Linked DNA regions of Homo sapiens: all the other regions are linked to region 1. Evidence: promoter capture Hi-C in 16 types of primary human blood cells and fetal thymus (Javierre and others, 2016). All regions are on one chromosome and are shown on one strand. Each heading gives the region's core, a stretch centred on a gene start or on the middle of the fragment in contact. The rest is flanking DNA. Distances are from core to core; before and after follow the strand shown.

What was found. Contacts are between HindIII fragments. The CHiCAGO score rates a contact against its expected background, and 5 or more counts as called.
Region 2: a contact is called between a fragment that was not itself captured here and the fragment with the promoter of CCL28 in region 1, in 1 of 17 cell types (erythroblasts). The highest score is 5.2, in erythroblasts.
Region 3: a contact is called between a fragment that was not itself captured here and the fragment with the promoter of CCL28 in region 1, in 5 of 17 cell types (erythroblasts, M1 macrophages, megakaryocytes and 2 more). The highest score is 9.6, in erythroblasts.
Region 4: a fragment that was not itself captured here is called in contact with the fragment with the promoter of CCL28 in region 1 in 3 of 17 cell types (erythroblasts, M1 macrophages and megakaryocytes); the score reaches 6.5 in erythroblasts.
Region 5: a contact is called between a fragment that was not itself captured here and the fragment with the promoter of CCL28 in region 1, in 4 of 17 cell types (erythroblasts, M1 macrophages, megakaryocytes and 1 more). The highest score is 8.3, in erythroblasts.
Region 6: a fragment that was not itself captured here is called in contact with the fragment with the promoter of CCL28 in region 1 in 4 of 17 cell types (M1 macrophages, erythroblasts, megakaryocytes and 1 more); the score reaches 8.1 in M1 macrophages.

Annotation. Positions count from the first base shown.
Region 1 is chr5:43,411,126-43,413,991 of GRCh38, forward strand. CCL28 (C-C motif chemokine ligand 28) reads right to left here and starts at 1,266. Exons shown (of 3, transcript NM_148672.3): 1 at 1,128-1,266. The coding sequence starts at 1,191. The HindIII fragment of the contact is 1,630 bases long and covers 146-1,775 here.
Region 2 is chr5:43,269,370-43,272,069 of GRCh38, forward strand. The region is part of intron 2 of NIM1K (NIM1 serine/threonine protein kinase); the gene reads left to right. Among named protein-coding and RNA genes, the nearest start is that of HMGCS1, 43 kb to the right of the region's middle. The HindIII fragment of the contact is 776 bases long and covers 931-1,706 here.
Region 3 is chr5:43,177,222-43,179,964 of GRCh38, forward strand. No RefSeq gene overlaps it. Among named protein-coding and RNA genes, the nearest start is that of NIM1K, 14 kb to the right of the region's middle. The HindIII fragment of the contact is 3,514 bases long and covers 1-2,743 here.
Region 4 is chr5:43,211,529-43,214,228 of GRCh38, forward strand. The region is part of intron 1 of NIM1K (NIM1 serine/threonine protein kinase); the gene reads left to right. Among named protein-coding and RNA genes, the nearest start is that of NIM1K, 21 kb to the left of the region's middle. The HindIII fragment of the contact is 4,233 bases long and covers 1-2,700 here.
Region 5 is chr5:43,230,063-43,232,840 of GRCh38, forward strand. All of the region lies in intron 1 of NIM1K (NIM1 serine/threonine protein kinase), which reads left to right. It also overlaps the pseudogene TUBAP14. Among named protein-coding and RNA genes, the nearest start is that of NIM1K, 39 kb to the left of the region's middle. The HindIII fragment of the contact is 583 bases long and covers 1,127-1,709 here.
Region 6 is chr5:43,194,686-43,197,523 of GRCh38, forward strand. The region is part of intron 1 of NIM1K (NIM1 serine/threonine protein kinase); the gene reads left to right. Among named protein-coding and RNA genes, the nearest start is that of NIM1K, 3.9 kb to the left of the region's middle. The HindIII fragment of the contact is 159 bases long and covers 1,492-1,650 here.

The DNA.
Region 1 (2,866 bases), core at 16-2,515:
TTAAAATCCAATTTGTATGTGTGTATGTATGAGTATGTACATGAGAAAGCTTTCAGTTTTAAAATGTTGGCTCAGATTTTTAAAAAGCAGACCAAAGACTTATATTCCACCTCTGCTCTAGACTTAGAGAATCTGTTCAGGATAAAGCTTAAAGAAAAGATGACAATGGAAAAGAGTCATTGGTCAAGTATTAAGTACTGACACTTAGGGTTTCCTGAATATAGTAGTGAGTGCTACTTTAGAAGAGATTCCCTCTAGTTCAAATGCAGTTACAATCTCCAAATACATGCTAGCAACTCACGATTTAAATTCTCTTTGACATAATTTGTATGGTTCAATCTCCCTCATCCTGCTTTTCTTCTTTTTCTTTCTTTCCTTTCCTTTCTTCCTTTCCTTCTCTTTCCCCTCCCCTCCCCTCTTTTTGTTTTTAACAGATGGGGTTTTACTATGTTGCCCAAGCTGGAGTGCAGTGGCAATTCAGAGTGCAGTGGCAATTCACAGTGTGATCATAGCTCACTGCAATCTTGAATTCCTGGCCTGAAGCTATCCTCCAGCCGTAGCCTCCCAAGTAGGTGGGAATACAGGCATGCACCACTGTGCTCAGCTCTGCCCTCCCTTTTTAAAGGTCAGACTGAAGTTTCAGTTTTCTGTATCCATAGAGCTGACTTTGCTCAGGAAATTTACAACTTACCTAATTTGAACGCAGCTGGCCAAGTCTGTATTTCCCTCCAGGAATGTGCACAGTTGTGTTCAGACCGTTTAGCAGGTTGGGGTGTGGAGGAAGACAGATGAATAGTAGGGGCTTTACTCCAGCCTCTAGCTGGGGATTTTCTAAGATACTGTCTTCAGAAAAGGAAACATAGCTCGAAGTTGTACCTACATGGAAGGACCTCATCCTCCAGGTGGCAAAAATTTGTAGTATGCCTGTTAGAATGAGGTTCCTTCCTGAAACTTCTGGGAGATCTAGAATTTAAAGCTATGTCATTCTCTTGTAGGTAATCAGAAATCAATTGGAAATTCCTGCTTGAAGAGATAGATATTCTTGCCCCACCTCAATCCTTCCAGCACAGATTTGGGAGATACCCCCCTTTCCAGTGAAGGCCTAAGTGTCCAGTGCCCCCACTCACCTTCTGAGGCATGTAGGGCCGCACAGACAGCCAAGGCCACGATGGCGAGTCCTCTCTGCTGCATTCCTGCCTGCCCTACTGGCACTGACAGCAACACAAGTGAGGCTGTTCGATCAGGAAATGAGGCTAAAGGTGTCCTTGGGCACAGAGAAAGTGCAGAGGAAAAGTAAGCCAGGTGGCCCCGCCCTGGGAGGTGTTCAGGGTATCTATTTCTCATGTTTCTTTCCTTAAGACCAGGCTCCTCCTCGACTTATTAAGCTCCTAACTTGTGTTCATCCTGCCTGGGGGTCAGGGGATGTCAATGGAGATCTGGCAGCTGGCAGGGTCACTGTGAGGTGGGGTGTGCATCAGAATCATTTGGGGAACATTAAAAAAAATCAATCTAAATGACTCTCCCCTTTCCCTGATTTGTAAACCAGAACTCCCAGGTAGGAGACCAGTCATTTGAATTTTGTAAAAGCTCTATAGGTGATTCTGATGGACACTTATGTTGAGACCCATTGCATAATCAGTTTTTAAGTAGCTTATGGAAACCATGAGTTTCTGGGGACAAGGGTGACAAGTCATAAAAAATGTATCTTTGTGGAAAGATATGGAAGTATTAAACCCCACTTTAGTCTTGGTTCACAGCCAAATTGTTTCCAGTGAAGCTTTTTACAATAGCTTATTTAGGAGAAAGACAGGAAGGGGGGCAATGCCTTGTAGAAAAGAGCCCAAGAGCAGGTGTGAAGAGGCATGAGCGCTAGTGCAGCTTTGCTGCCAATCAGCTTTGTGAATAAAAGCATGGGGTAGCATGAAGATAATTGGATTCTAATTGTTCCTCATCTACTAATAAGTTGTATAACCTCAGGCAACGTACTTAACTTTGCTGTAAATAACAAGTCAGACTAGATGACCTCCAAAGTCATGCCATGCTTCCTCTAGAACTGTGTTGTCCTATGTGGTAGCCGCTAGCCCACATGTGGCTCTTGAGCACTTGAAATATGAGTAGTCCAAACTCAGATGTACTATGGGTATAAAATTCACACTGGATTTCAAAGACTGGGTACAGAAAAAAATATAAAATATCTTGTTAATAATGTTTATACTGTTTATTGATTACATGATAGTATTTTGGACTTTTTGGGTTAAATAAAATATATTATTAAAATTAATTTCACCCATTTCTTTTTATGTTTTCAAATTACTGCTGTGGTTTGAATATTTTTTTCTTCTCCAAAGCTCATGTTGAAAATTAATCCCTAATAGTGCTGGGAGATAGGGCCTAATGGACAATGTTTAGGTTATGATGGCTCCACCCTCATGAATGGATGAATGCTACTATAAAAAGGGCTTGTGGGAATGGGTTGGTACCTTCTGCTCTTCTGCCAGGTGAGTACACAATGCTCCTTCTCTCCAAAAGATGCAGCAAAGTGGCATCATCTTGGAAATAGAAACTGAAATCACTGGAGCCTTGATCTTGGACTTCCCAGCCTCCATAATTGTAAGAGAATACATTTCTGTTATTTATAAATTGCTCAGTCTCGGGTTGTGGTGTTATGATATATATATTGGCTTTTATCCATGGTTCCTGGCTTATAACTCCCATAACCCTTGTTACAGTTTTTTTTTGTTGTTTGTTTGTTTGTTTTTTTTTTGAGACAGAGTCTCGCTTTGTTGCCCAGGCTGGAGTGAGTTTCACCATCTTGGCAAGATGCTGGTCTTGAACTCCTGACCTTGTGATCCACCCGCCTTGGCCT
Region 2 (2,700 bases), core at 69-2,568, 140 kb before region 1:
ACAGAACATCTTTTCCCACCCCTTTACCTTGTGCTTGTGTGAATCCTTATGCATTAGATGAGTCTCTTGAAGACAGCAGATATTTGGTTTGTGATATTTTATCCATTCTGCCAATCTGTATGTTTTCAGTGGAGCATTTATGCCATTTATGTTTAATATTAACATTGAGATGTAAGGTACGATTCTCCTCATCATGTTGATTATTACCTGGATCCTTTTGTGTGTGTGTGTGTGTTATTGTTTTTATTTTTTTATTTTAATTTTTTTGAGACAGAGTCTTGCTCTGTCACCCAGGCTGGAGTGCAGTGGCGAGATCTCTGCTCACTGCAAGCTCCGCCTCCTGGGTTCATGCCATTCTCCTGCCTCAGCCTCCCGAGTAGCTGGGACTACAGACACCCGCCACTACGCCTGGCTAATTTTTTGTATTTTTAGTAGAGACGGGGTTTCACCATGTTAGCCAGGATGGTCTCGATCTCCTGACCTCGTGATCCACCCCCCTTGGCCTCCCAAAGTGCTGGGATTACAGGTGTGAGCCACCGTGCCCGGCCATGTGTGTGTGTTATTGTTTTATAGGCCCTGTGAGTTTTATGCTTTCAAGAGGTTTTATTCTGATGCATGTCAACTTTTGGTTTCAAGATTTAGAAGTCCTTTTAGAATTTTGTGTATGGCTGGTCTGGTAGTTACAAATTCCTTCATCATTTGCTTGTCTGGAAAAGACTTTATTTCTCTTTCATTTATGAAACTTAGTTTTGCTGGACACAAAATTCTTGACTGACACTTATTCTGTTTAAGGAGGCTAAAGATTGGACCCCAATCCCTTCTGGCTTGTAAGGTTTCTGCTGAGGGGAAGATTTTTATCAATGACATAAATGTGTGATGATGGAAACAATCCAGTGGGAAGAGAAAATTGATGCAGGAGAGAAGAAAGAAAGCTTTTTTGGAGGGCTGCTCTTTAGTATATGAGAGTAGATGGAATCTATTCAACATGTAAAGGAGTCTTAGCTAGGCCTTAGATAGGAGTAGGAATTGTTTATCCAAAGTAAAATGAAGGAAGAGAGATTCCAGTAGGTTGGAAGACATGGTGGGAAGGACTTGAGGAAATTCTCCTCTATTGCTTATTTTACTCAATAAAGTAGGAAGCAAGGTTACCAGCTGTGAATGAGGAGTGGAAGAAGGCATTAGAGACTTGATGAGAGAAAAGAAGCCATGAAAGAGTTATACAAAAGTGTATGAGGTTTATTGGACTAGGGAAAGTATGTCTGCCAGGCGCTTTAAAGGGCCAACTGAAGTTAGTGACCAGAAATTCAAAGTGAGACAAGCCATTATGTCCAACAGCATGGGTGCAGGCAGAGAGTAGTGGGAAGCTGGATTTAACCAGAGTCATGGTTTAGCAAAGTGAACTCAACAACCTGGGAGAGAGACAGGGGAACTTAGGGAGTGCCCGAAGGCATGATAACATTAATAGAGATCCTCCTCCAGTGAATGTCACCAGCCTCCCAGTTGCTCAACTGAGAAACCTTGACCTTTTCCTCAACCCCTAACACCCAAACACCAAGTGGTATTGATTTCACTTCCTAAATATCTCCTCCTTTCCTCATTGGATTAAGCTACTGTAATTTGTCTTCATGTTTATATCATTTCCCCCATAGCAGCCAGAGGTGATGTTTTAGAAATTACAAGCCTGATCATGTAACTACCTACTTACAAGCTTCCAGCAGCTTCTTTTTTTTTTTCAAGTGGCAGTTTTAAGTTTGTGGGTTTTTAATTTATATATGTGAAATACCTTTTTATAGGCAAAAATAATAATAGCATGCTTCTTACTGCCCTTAATGTGAAATGACTCACAAGACCTTGGTGTGGCCAACTCTCCAGCCTCTTTTTTGGCTTATATTTTTCCTTCTTCCCCGTATGCCAGCCCTACTTTCTTCTTTCAATTCTTCAAAGTCAGTCATCTCTGAGGGTGCATATACCCCCAGAGAATGCCCAAGATGATTCACTGGGATGAGGAAAAAAAATACTAGAACTTCCTTTTATATTTATTTGTGATTATATATTTTTAATTTCTGTGATTATATATATTGAAAATGTGTAAATCAGTAGTACATGGATACACTTTATAAATACGTATACATATATTAGAGTAGTGCTCAAAAATGTTTTATTATGCACATGCAGTTGTAAGAATATGTACAGAGACCACATGTACCATTTACCCAGTTTCACACAAACTTGCATCTTGCAAAACTATAGTCATAACCTTGATATTAATATTGATCTAATTCACTGATCTTATTAAGATTTTCCCAGTTCTTGTATTCATGCATGTGTATGTATTTTAACTCTATGGAATGTTATCACATAAATAGGTTGTTATATTCCCCACCACAGTAAAGATACAGGACAAGTCCATTATCACAAGGGCCCTTCAAGTGGCTCTTCTGTAGCCACCTCCTAACCCCCTATACCCTGTCCCTGACTCCTGCCAGCCACTAATCCGTTCTCCATTTCTATAATTTTGTCATTCCAAGAAAATTATATACAAGAAATCATACAGTAGTAACCTTTTAGGATTGGCATTTTTCACTCACCATACTTCTCGGGCAATTCATCTAAACTGTTGTATCAATAGTTGGTTCATTTTTATTGCTGAGTGGTATTCCACGTATGAAGGTACCACAATTTGTTTAACCATTCACCAGC
Region 3 (2,743 bases), core at 79-2,578, 230 kb before region 1:
AAAGTAGAGGAAAACTATCTACTGGTGATAAACTGTATGTTGAATAACATTTTGTAGTTGGAAAGCACTTTATGTAGAACATAAAACAGCTGTTAACAACTGATGTATATTTGCTTCAAGTACTGAAGCAAACTGGATATTTAGTCCTCCAGTGTTCTACTGTATTTGTACTGGAGTTTTAAGATAAGTCTACAGTATGAGGTACCAAGTTGGACAGTAGAGTGTGCAATGATGATCACATAGAAATAAGTCCCAAGTGCACTGAGAACGATGAGAGGCTTTTCTATCTCTACTCCGTTTCAACAGCAATTCTCAGACATCAATTGGGTGTCCAACAATTGAATCTGACACCACCCAGATTTAGAGCAAGTTAAGTGCTCAGTACCACAAAATTGCCCCCACTTCAGACACCAGCCACAAATGCGATCAACAGGCTACCCGCGCTTCTGCCCAGCCAACCGTAAATTTAGGGTTCTTATGGCCTTCCCATCCCCCCAAGTTCAATAATGCATTGAAACAACTCAGGAAAGCACTATACTTAACGACTACAGTAAGTATACAATTCAGGAACAGCCAAATGGAAGAGATGCATAGAGTAAGGTGGATGGAGGGGGTTGTGGAGGAGAATAGTAGAGGTTTCTCTGCCCTCACTTGGCATGCCACTTTCCCAGCATGTTGATGTGTTCAACTCAGAAGCTCCCTTACTGACATTTTATAACCTAGACTCATTAAATTATTGGCCTCCGGGCTCAATCTCCAGCCCCTCTTCTCCCTGGAGGTCTCGGGTGGGGGTAATAGTTGTAGCCCTTTAATACAACTGGTTCCTCTAGTGACCCGTGCCCATCTTGAAGCTATCTAGGGGCCCTCTGCCAGTAGTCATCTCATTAGCATAAACTGGTAAGATCAAAAGGGGCTTGTAATGAATAACAAAAGACATTCTGGAAATTACAAGGATTTTTGGAGCTGTGTGCAAGGAACCAGGGAGAAAAACCCAAATCCATTTTATTTGTTTTGTTTTTAGACAGTTTCACTCTTGTTGCCCAGGCTGGAGTGCAATGGCACGATCTCTGCTCACTGCAACCTCCACCTCCCAGGTTAAGGCGATTCTCATACCTCAGCCTCTCGAGTAGCTGGGATTACAGGCATGCGCCACCATGCCCGGCTAATTTTTTTTTTTTCAGTAGAGACGGGTTTTCACCATGTTGGTCAGGCTGGTCTCGATCTCTCGACTTCAGGTGATCCACCCACCTCAGCCTCCCAAAGTGCTGGGATTACAGGTATGAGCCACCGTGCTTGGCCTATTTTTTTTTTTTTTTTAATTACACCACACCTATCATTTGAGATTGAAAGAAAAACTAAACTGAATACATTAGCAATACATTTAAAAGCTAGACATCTTTTGGATATGTACAAAATCAGAAGGCTCTTGTAGTCTTACCAGTTTAAAAAGGCTACCTGGCTGGACACGGTGGCTCACGCCTGTAATCCCAACACTTTGGGAGGCCAAGGTGGACAGATCACCAGTTCAGGAGTTCGAGACCAGCCTGGGCCAACATGGTGAAACCCCCATCTCTACTAAAAATACAAGATGAACCAGGCATGGTGGCGGATGCCTGTAATCCCAGCTACTCAGGAGGCTGAGGCAGGAGAATCGCTTGAACCCGAGAGATGGAGGTTGCAGTGAGCTGAGATCGTGCCACTGCACTCCAGCCTAGGCCACAGAGCAAGACTCTGTCTCAAAATAAATAAATAAATAAATAAATAAATAAAAATAAAAAGGCTACCATACTCAGATAATACTGAATGTAGGGACATTTTCATGAGAATTTGAATGCTTCTGCTCCCACTAGTTTGAACTTGGAATTAAAGATGTCATTATTGGAAGGGTCCATGAAAGTTCTCTGGACTAACTACCCATTTCATAGTTTGAATAAGCCAACAGGCTTATTAAGCCATAGAGTGAGGCCTAAATGTAGATACCTTTACCAATCAAGTGGATTTTAATTCGCATTTTCAATTTAACATGGGTTGGTTGTTTTAAACAAGTGATTCTATGATCATTAAACTAGTCACACAAAAAGTATTTTATAACTCTTAGATGCAAAATTACAAACAAATGCCTGACCTAGAAAGTTTAGTCTGATTTTGTTGGAGAAAACTAATAGCTTTGAATTCATTAGGTTAACACTGACCTTTGTGTTAATTACATCAGGAGAGGGAGATCTAGATTGTTTTTCTTGTGTAATCTGCTGAGCTGTGCTATACCTCTTACAGGATTTGTCATGAAGAATTCAAATGAGAAGAAGGAATTAAACCCTCATCACCCCATCAGTTAATAAAATCCTTCATAGTTAGAAGCCTAGATATTTATTACTTTAAAACCCATAAAAAACAAACAAAAAAAAACCAGAGGCTGTCATAATAGTCTGAACTTCTTAAAACTCTACTCCCTGCCCTGCAAATGTAACTTCATTAATTCTATTGACATGGTAAAGAAGGCAGCATGTGAATTCAATCTTTTTCTCTTCGCCCTTCCTGCAATTCAATCTTCTCTTTGCCCTTCCTGCAACCCAACATGTCCCTATAAATATTTTTTTTTTTTTTTAGACAGGGTCTCGCTGTGTCACCCAGGCTAGAGTGCAGTGGCACAATCTCGGCTTACTGCAACCTTTAACTTCTGGGCTCAAGCAACCCTCCCACTTCAGCCTCCTGAGTAGCTACGACTACAGGTGCGTGTACCACA
Region 4 (2,700 bases), core at 178-2,677, 200 kb before region 1:
CTTCAGTTCAGCATGTCAATATATCATATTCTGGAATATTGGCTGCTAAGCCCCAACAGGATGTTTGTGAGACCTCAAGTACTTGGAGACATCTCAAATATAGGGCATATGGAGGGGGGTAAGTGGGAACAGGGGAGATGAGAAATGAAGCTAGAAATAAAGCCAAGAACTAGATCTTGAGGAGCTTTCTAGACCATGCAATGGAAATCTAATTTTATCCTACAGACATTTTAATGAAGGATTTTAAGCAGGACAGTACTGTGGTAAAATCTACATTTTGGAATAATCACACAAGTGGTTTGCTGGAGAATAAAATTGAGCTGGGAATAAAATTAAGATGGGAAGTAGGGAAGCCTGCTAGAAGGTTCTTAAAGCCACCTAGGCACAGAATGGGATTAAGACCCTTCATCAAACCACACATGCAACTCAAAATTCAAGCAAAGCTAACCATATAAGACTAACAAAAACAAAATTCGGATTTTTCTTAGGATGATTACCTAGATGCATTGAGAAATATATATATTGAATATAAAAGTATTTTAAGACTTTTATTTCCGCCTCTCTTGGATGCGCCTGGTCTGCTGGTGCCTTAAAGCATGTGCATCTCTACCTACTGTGGGATCCCAGGATGGAAATGTAAAAGGATTGGGGTGGTGTGGAAGTGGGAGGATCAACAGGATTGGGTGAGGGGAAGGTAGAGGACAGGAATGGCACCTAGGTTTCCTGCTTGGCCAACGGATCGCACATCATTTCTGGGTTTCTGTTCCTTATCCTTCCCAACACATGGCAGAGGTCTCCTCCCAGACAGGAATGGTCCCAACCTGTTCCTGTTGCAGAGGCCCTCTATCCTTTGAGCTTAGTCCAGGCTCCAATAGGGATTTTTAAATACTCTCACGTGAGGACCAAAAATAAATCCCTCCACAGTCTTTAAAATGCTCAGGACCAGAGTCAGCCTGTAACATACCATGGTTTCAGCACCGTCGTCATGAGGCTCCAGAAGCAACCCTGGGGCTCAGGAGAGGAGGGCTCAGCAGGACTCCCTCATTCCTTCCTCCCATCTCTAGTCCTCCTCCTTTTAGTGGCTCCTGTGTACAAAGATAACTCAGTCCCCTCAGTCACTCTGGGACTGTGGCTCAGTGACAAAAGCAGAAGATGCAGCCTGATAGAGACACCAACTCTAAACGTCTGGGAACAAGGCCCCAGGCAGCAGCTAAATATATCACTGCGATTGCTCCTGAATGTTCTAGAGCACCAAAGACTCTGTTAGGAAGCATATTCTCACCATGCACTTGGGTCTAGTGTTCATTGCACTGTTTCCTTTCAAGAGCCTCAAAGCCCTAACTTCAAGAGCAAACAAAAGCAAATTTAGAATGTGTACCAGATATATTCTCAATTATAGCTTCAGCTTCCCCTCTGTGTTCGCCCAGGTGCAGAGTAGAATATGGGCTCCCATATGTGCCATTTACTGTTTTTCATCAATATTTAAGCATCCACCTTTGCCAGAGGGTGTATTCAGGCAACTGGTAACTATGCCACCATTTCAACCACTTATTTGGTGCCTGATATCATTTTTTCTAAGTCCTCCTATTTCTGGATTCAAAACTTTGAAAAAAATCTCCATTTTCTTTCTTTCTTTTTTTCTTTCTTTCTTTCTTTCTTTCTTTCTTTCTTTCTTTCTTTCTTTCTTTCTTTCTTTCCTTCTTTTCTTCCTTTCTTTCTTTCTTGTTCTTTCTTGTTTCTTTTTCTTTCTTGTTTCCTTTCCTTTTCTTTTCTTTTCTTTTCTTTTCTTTTCTTTTCTTTTCTTTTCTTTTCTTTTCTAGTTGGAGTCTCATTCATTGTCACCCAGGCTGGAGCGCAGCGGCACGATCTTGGCTCGCTGCAACCTCCACCTCCCAGGTTCAAGTGATTCTCGTGCCTCAGCCTCCCAAGTAGCTGGGATTACCGGCATGCACCACCACATCTGGCTATTTTTTTTTTCTTTTTGAGACGGAGTCTCGCTCTGTCACCCAGGCTGGAGTGCCGTGGCACATTCTCTGCTCACTGTAACCTCCACTTCCCAGGTTCAAGTGATTCTCCTGCCTCAGCCTCCAGAGTAGCTGGGATTACAGGTGCCTGCCACCACGCCCGGCTTATTTTTGTATTTTTTTAGTAGAGCTTGGGTTTTGCCATATTGGCCAGGCTGGTCTTGAACTCCTGGCCTCAGGTGATCCACCCAGCTTGGCCTCCCAAAGTGCTGGGATTACAGGTGTGAGCCACTGCCCCGGCCAATTTTTGTATTTCTAGAAGAGATGGGTTTCACCATGTTGGCCAGGCTGGTCTCAAACTCCTGATCTCAAGTGATCTGCCTAACTCAGCCTCCTAAAGTGCTGAGATTACAGGCTGGAGCCACCATGCCTAGCTCTTTCTCTCTTTCTTTCTTTCTTTTTTCTTTCTCCTTCCTTCTTCTCTTTCTTTCTTTTTTTTTTTTTGTCTTACCTTTTTACCCAGGCTGGTCTTGAACACCTGGCCTTAAGCAATCCTCCCACCTCGGCCTCCCAAAGTGCTGGCATTACAGGCATGAGCCACCACACCCAGCCAAAAATATCTCAGTTTTGGAATGCTGGACTCGACCATCCCAGGCATCTGAGCCAGTTGACTGTATCAGGGAGGATTCACTCACTTTTACACACATGGTTATCAGAGACAGGCCACATTCCCAGA
Region 5 (2,778 bases), core at 168-2,667, 180 kb before region 1:
AAACCTTCAAACAACCCAGAAACAAATGGAGTAAGAAATGAAAGCCCTCTTGCACAAACATTGGGTTGCCATAACAAAAGTTGAAACAATAAAGGCTTAAAGAAGATAGAATCTTATATCTCTCACATCATAATATACAAGGTAGCAATCCTGGGTTGATCTGGTGACTGTGTAGTGATGGGTTTAGGCTCCTTCTCGGTGGCTCTGCAATTCTCAGCACATGGCTTCCATCTTGGTCCAAGGTGGCTGTTTCCATTTACCCCACTGTGTCCACATTCTAGCTAGCAGGAAGATGGGAAGAAGGAAGAGGCGAGAGGTCATGCTTCTTTTTTTAAAGGTCACAACATGGCAGTCACGTATGTCACTTGTGCTCACAGCCCATGACTGGAACTCAGATACATGGCCAAACTAAACTATAGCCAAAACTGGGAAATACAGTCCTCAGTTGGATAGCAATGTGCCCAGCTAAAACTTCTCTGTTATAAAATAGTGGTTTTCAAGTTTGGCTGCACAACAGAATCACCTGGAAAACTTAAACAAATAGACACCTCCCACTCCACAGGCCAATTCAATCACAATATTTGGGGGGCAGGGCCTAGACTTCTGCATTTTTTGAATGCTCTCTGGTGATTTTCATGCAGGTTAAGGTTGAGAACCACTGCTATAGAAGAAAGAACAGATGAAGGGGGGATAACAACCCCCATCACCGTCATTTTCACTCCTCCCCAATTCTGTACCTCACACTCCTTCCCCATTTGTCACCCACTAGTTCAATCTGCATTTTACCAGAGCTTTTTTTTGTGCATGTACAAGTACGCACTACGTGCATATGCACATGGTCTGTCCTGACACCCAGTAGTGACTCCAGCATTTCTATATGGGTGTGTCTTGGAATAGTAATATTACTAGAAGAGGCATGAGCCTCTGTATTTGCATGGCACTTTACACTAATCAAAAAATATATTATTTTCTTGGCTGGATGCTGTGGCTCACACCTATAATCCCAGGATTTTGAGAGGCTGAGGCTGGGGGATCACTTGAGCTCAGGAGTTCAACACCAGCCTGGGCGACATAGTGAGACACCATCTCTACAAAAAATAAAAAATTAGCTGGGCATGTTGGCACAAGCTTGTTGTCGCAGCTACTCAGGAGACTGAGTTGGGTGGATTGCTTGGGTCCAGGAGATCGAGGCTGCAGTGAGCCATCCTCTCATTACTGCAGTCCAGCCTGAGTGACAGAGTGAAACTCTAGTTATCTCTTCCTCTATCTATATCTATATATCTATATTTATAAATGTATAATTTTCTTATGTGTGTCAAAGAATGAGGGCTAATGAAGAATTTGTGGTGGTGTGAAAGCTGAAGCCATCTCTTGGTTTAGCCCCTGCAAGCATCATAATATTGAATCGTTTACCTTTTCCCAGTGGTCTCAAATGCCACCTCTATTACATATTAAATCTCCATATATATGAAGATTTTTTAAAAGTATTATTTATTCTGTTAGTTCAGATTGTTACTACATATTTGTTCACTTTTAAAAAACATTTATTATTATTATTGTTTTTAAAACCCATCACAGAAATGGACAGTCTGGGTCTGCAAAAGCATTCATGTTTTAAAGCATAGGTCAGTAGTTGTATATTAGAGCATACACTGCTACATAAAAATTAACTGATCAGACCACAACTTTTCAATGTTTAAAACAGAATAAGCTTCCCTGTAAAAGCAGCACCTTTGTGACGTTTTCACTTTAGTATTCCTCTCTTTCTTCCTCACCTTCTCCTTCAACAGAATCCACACCAACCTCCTTATAATCCTTCTCAAGGGCAGTCATGTCCTCACTGGCCTCAGAAAACTCTCCTTCCTCCCTTCTCTCACCCACGTACCAGTGAACAAAAGCACTCTTGACATACATTCAAGTCAAACTTGTGGTCCAGGTGAGCCCAGGCCTCAGCAATGGCTGTGGTATTGCTCAGCATGCACACAGCTCTCTGTGTCTTGACCAGGTCTCCACCAGTCACCACAGTGGGAGGGCTGGCAGTTAATGCCAACCTTGAAGCCAGGGGGCACCAAACCACAAATTAGATGATACACTTGGTCTTGATTGATGGTGGCAATGGCAGCATTGACGTCTTTGAGAACCATGTCACCACGGTAAAACAGGCAGCAAGCCATGTATTTACCATGGCAAGGCTCACATTTCATCATCTGGTTGGCAGGCTGAAAGCAAGCACTGGCAGTCTCTGCTACAGAAAGCTGTTTCATGGTAGGCTTTCTCAGCAGAGATGACAGGGCATATGTGTCCAGACGGAAGTGGATGGGGGGATAGGCCACCAGCTTGGTCTGGAATTCTGTCAGATCAACATTCAGGACTCCATCAAATCTCAGGGAAGCAGTGATGGAGGACACAATTTGACCTATCAACCTATTCAGTTTAGTATAGGTTGGGCGTTCAGTATCAAGGTTCTATGCCAGATATCATAAGTGGCCTCATTGTCTACCATGAAGACACAATCAGAGTGCTCCAGGGTGGTGTGGGAGGTGAGGATGGAGTTGTAGGGCTCAACTACAGCTGTGGAAACCTGGGGTGGTGAGTAAATGGAGAACTGCAGCTTGGACTTCTTGCCGTAATCAACCGGGAGTTGTTCCATGAGCGGGGAGGTGAACCCAGAACCAATTCCTTCACCAAAGCTGTGGAAAAACAAGAAGCCTTGGCGATCCATGCACTGTTCAGCCAGTTTACAAATTTGGTCCAAAACGAGGTCAGTGATCTCCTGGC
Region 6 (2,838 bases), core at 321-2,820, 220 kb before region 1:
GATTTCTGAGCTTCAAATTCTAACATTGATAGCATGTGATTAGACAGCTTGAAGCCCTCAGACTTACAGTTTTGTTTTATTTTCTTTTCGTTTTTAGAGACTGGGTCTCGCCATGTTGCCCAGGCATGTCTCAAACTCCTGGGCTCAAGGGATCTTCCTGCCTCAGCCTCCTGAGGAGCTGGGACTACAGGTGCATGACAGACTTATCATACATTTTTAAAAAAACAAAAGCAAAGATTTTTGTCTTAGTAGGTTAATGTTTTTGTCACATATATAGTTTCATTTTGAGAAACTTAAAAATTAAAATATAACATTAAATCCAACTTCATTCTTTGAATCTGATCACTGTATTTCTCTAGGGATTAAAGAGTTTTAATTCATTGGTTGATTTTCTTTCACTTGTTGAAAGGACAAACTGTTCATAAAATTTGTTTCATTTTGTATTTTGTCATTTCCTATTGTCATTCTAGAAAAAGGTCTCTAGAATTGAAGTTTTAATTTTCAGGAGAAGAAGAAAATATTCAAATTGCTTATGAAGATAATAGTCTACAACTTGAATTAACCACATCATAGTTCTTAAATTACTTTCTCTCAAGAACTTCAAGGTTAGCTTAGCCATTATTATACAGCATCCTGAGGAATATTAATCAGTTTTACAGATGGACAAGTTGTGTTCAAAAGCCAAGTGATAGGTCGGTGCCGTGGCTCAGGCCTGTAATCCCAATACTTTGGGAGGCTGAAGCAGAAGGACTGCTTGAGCCCAGGAGTTCGAGACCAGCCTGGGCAACATGGTGAGACCTTGTCTCTATAAAAATTTTTTAAAAATTAGCTGGGTGTGGTGGTGCATGCCTGTAGTCCCAGCTACTGGGGAGACTGAGGGAGGAGGATTGCTTGAGCCTGGGAGGTTCAAGGCTGCAGTGAGCTGTGATTATGCCACTGCATTCCATCCTGGGAGACACAGAAAGACTCTGAATCCAAAAAAAAAAAAAAAAAAAGTGATTTCAGCTAACCACTTGGAAAATCGAGACAAAAATCTAAATTGTCTGACATGAGCATTATGAATATGAGCATTAGCCAAGACTTAAGAGAAATTCAGGGCATGGATAGCGGGAAGAATTTAAGATTAGAGAGCAAAATAAAACTGTTAAGGGGAAAAAACTGTAAGGAGAAAGCAGATTAATAGAAAGAAAGTAAAAGCGAAAACATCAAGTGAAAAGAGGGTTGCACAGAAGGAAAACGAAGTTGCAGAATAGGAAACTAAGAAGAACTCCACTCTTCATCTTCCACAGAGAACACTGATGGTTTTCCAGAAAGCAGTCAGTACCCTATTTAGCAAAATCGTGTGACTTGGGAGGCCTTAGCGGCAGATCTTAGTTCATTCTGACTCCCTGCCACCCATCCAAGTGGTGTGGGCTGAGGCAGCTGTCTTTTCGGGTCTCCTGAACTAGCTGCTCATTAGATCTTTTCTCCCTAATCCTAAAGCCATCAAGAAGCTTTCTGTGTCTCTATTTGTTGGAATTATCTAGTTGGGATAATATATGGATACACTTGATTACATAATTGCACTGAAATTTTTCTTTTTACTTTAAAAAATTGTTCAAATTGTTATCATCACAATGCATTCACCTAATTTTATGAGAGTATATTAAAAGCTTATAACTGGCTGGGCGCGGTGGCTTACGCCTGTAATCCCAGCACTTTGGGAGGCCGAGGTGGGTGGATCATGAGGTCAGGAGATCGAGACCATCCTGGCTAACACAGTGAAACCCTGTCTCTACTAAATATACAAAAAAAAAAAAATTAGCCAGGTGTGGTGGTGGGCGCCTGTAGTCCCAGCTACTCGGGAGGCTGAGGCAGGAGAATGGCTTGAGCCTGAGAGATGGAGCTTGTAGTGAGCCGAGATCGCGCCACTGCACTCCAGCCTGGGCGACAGAGCGAGACTCTGTCTCAAAAATAAATAAATAAATAAATAAAAAATAAAAGCTTATAACTAAAACAACAGTCCCAGTCTCCAGAGGCAATCATTTTGAACTCTTGGCTGTTTGATCACTTACCTCCCTATGTCCAAATAATTAGCTTATGTTGCTGTTTTTTCTTTTTTTCTTGAGACAGGTTCTCACACTGTTGCCCAGGGTAGAGTACAGTGGTGTGATCATGGCTCACTGCAGCCTTAAATTCCTGAGTTCAAGCAATCCTTCCCCCTCAACCTCTTGAGTAGCTGGGGCTATAGGTGCACGCTACCATGCCCATGCCCAGCTTTTTTTTTTTTTTTTTTTTTTTGGTAAAGACAAGGTTTCACTATGTTGCCCAGCCTGGTCTCAAACTCCTGGGCTCAAGCAATCCTCTCACTTTGGCCTCCCAAAGTGCTGGGATTACAAGCATGAGCCACCATGCCTGGCCACTGGTTCTTGATTTATCAATTTTGGACAGAATCTATTGACTTATTTATTTTTATGTTTTATTTAGAGGCAGGATCTCACTCACCTAGACTACAGTGCAGTGGTACAATCATAGCTCACTGCAGCCTAGAACTTCTGGGCACAAGTGATCCTCTCATTTCAGACTCCAGAGTAGCTGGGACTACAGGCATGCACCATCATGTCCAGCTAAGTTTTTTATTTTTGTAGAGTTGTCGGTGGTAGGGGGGGCGGGCCTCTCTATGTTGCCCAGGCTGGTCTTGAACTCCTGGCCTCAAGCCATCCTTCTGCCTTGGCCTCCCAAAGTGCTGGGATTACAGGCGTGAGCCACCACGCCTGGCCAAATTAGTTCTATTCTTGGCTAATAAAATACACCTTAGTCATTTTTAATCATGAAGATTTTTAAAGAGCCTTTTAAACT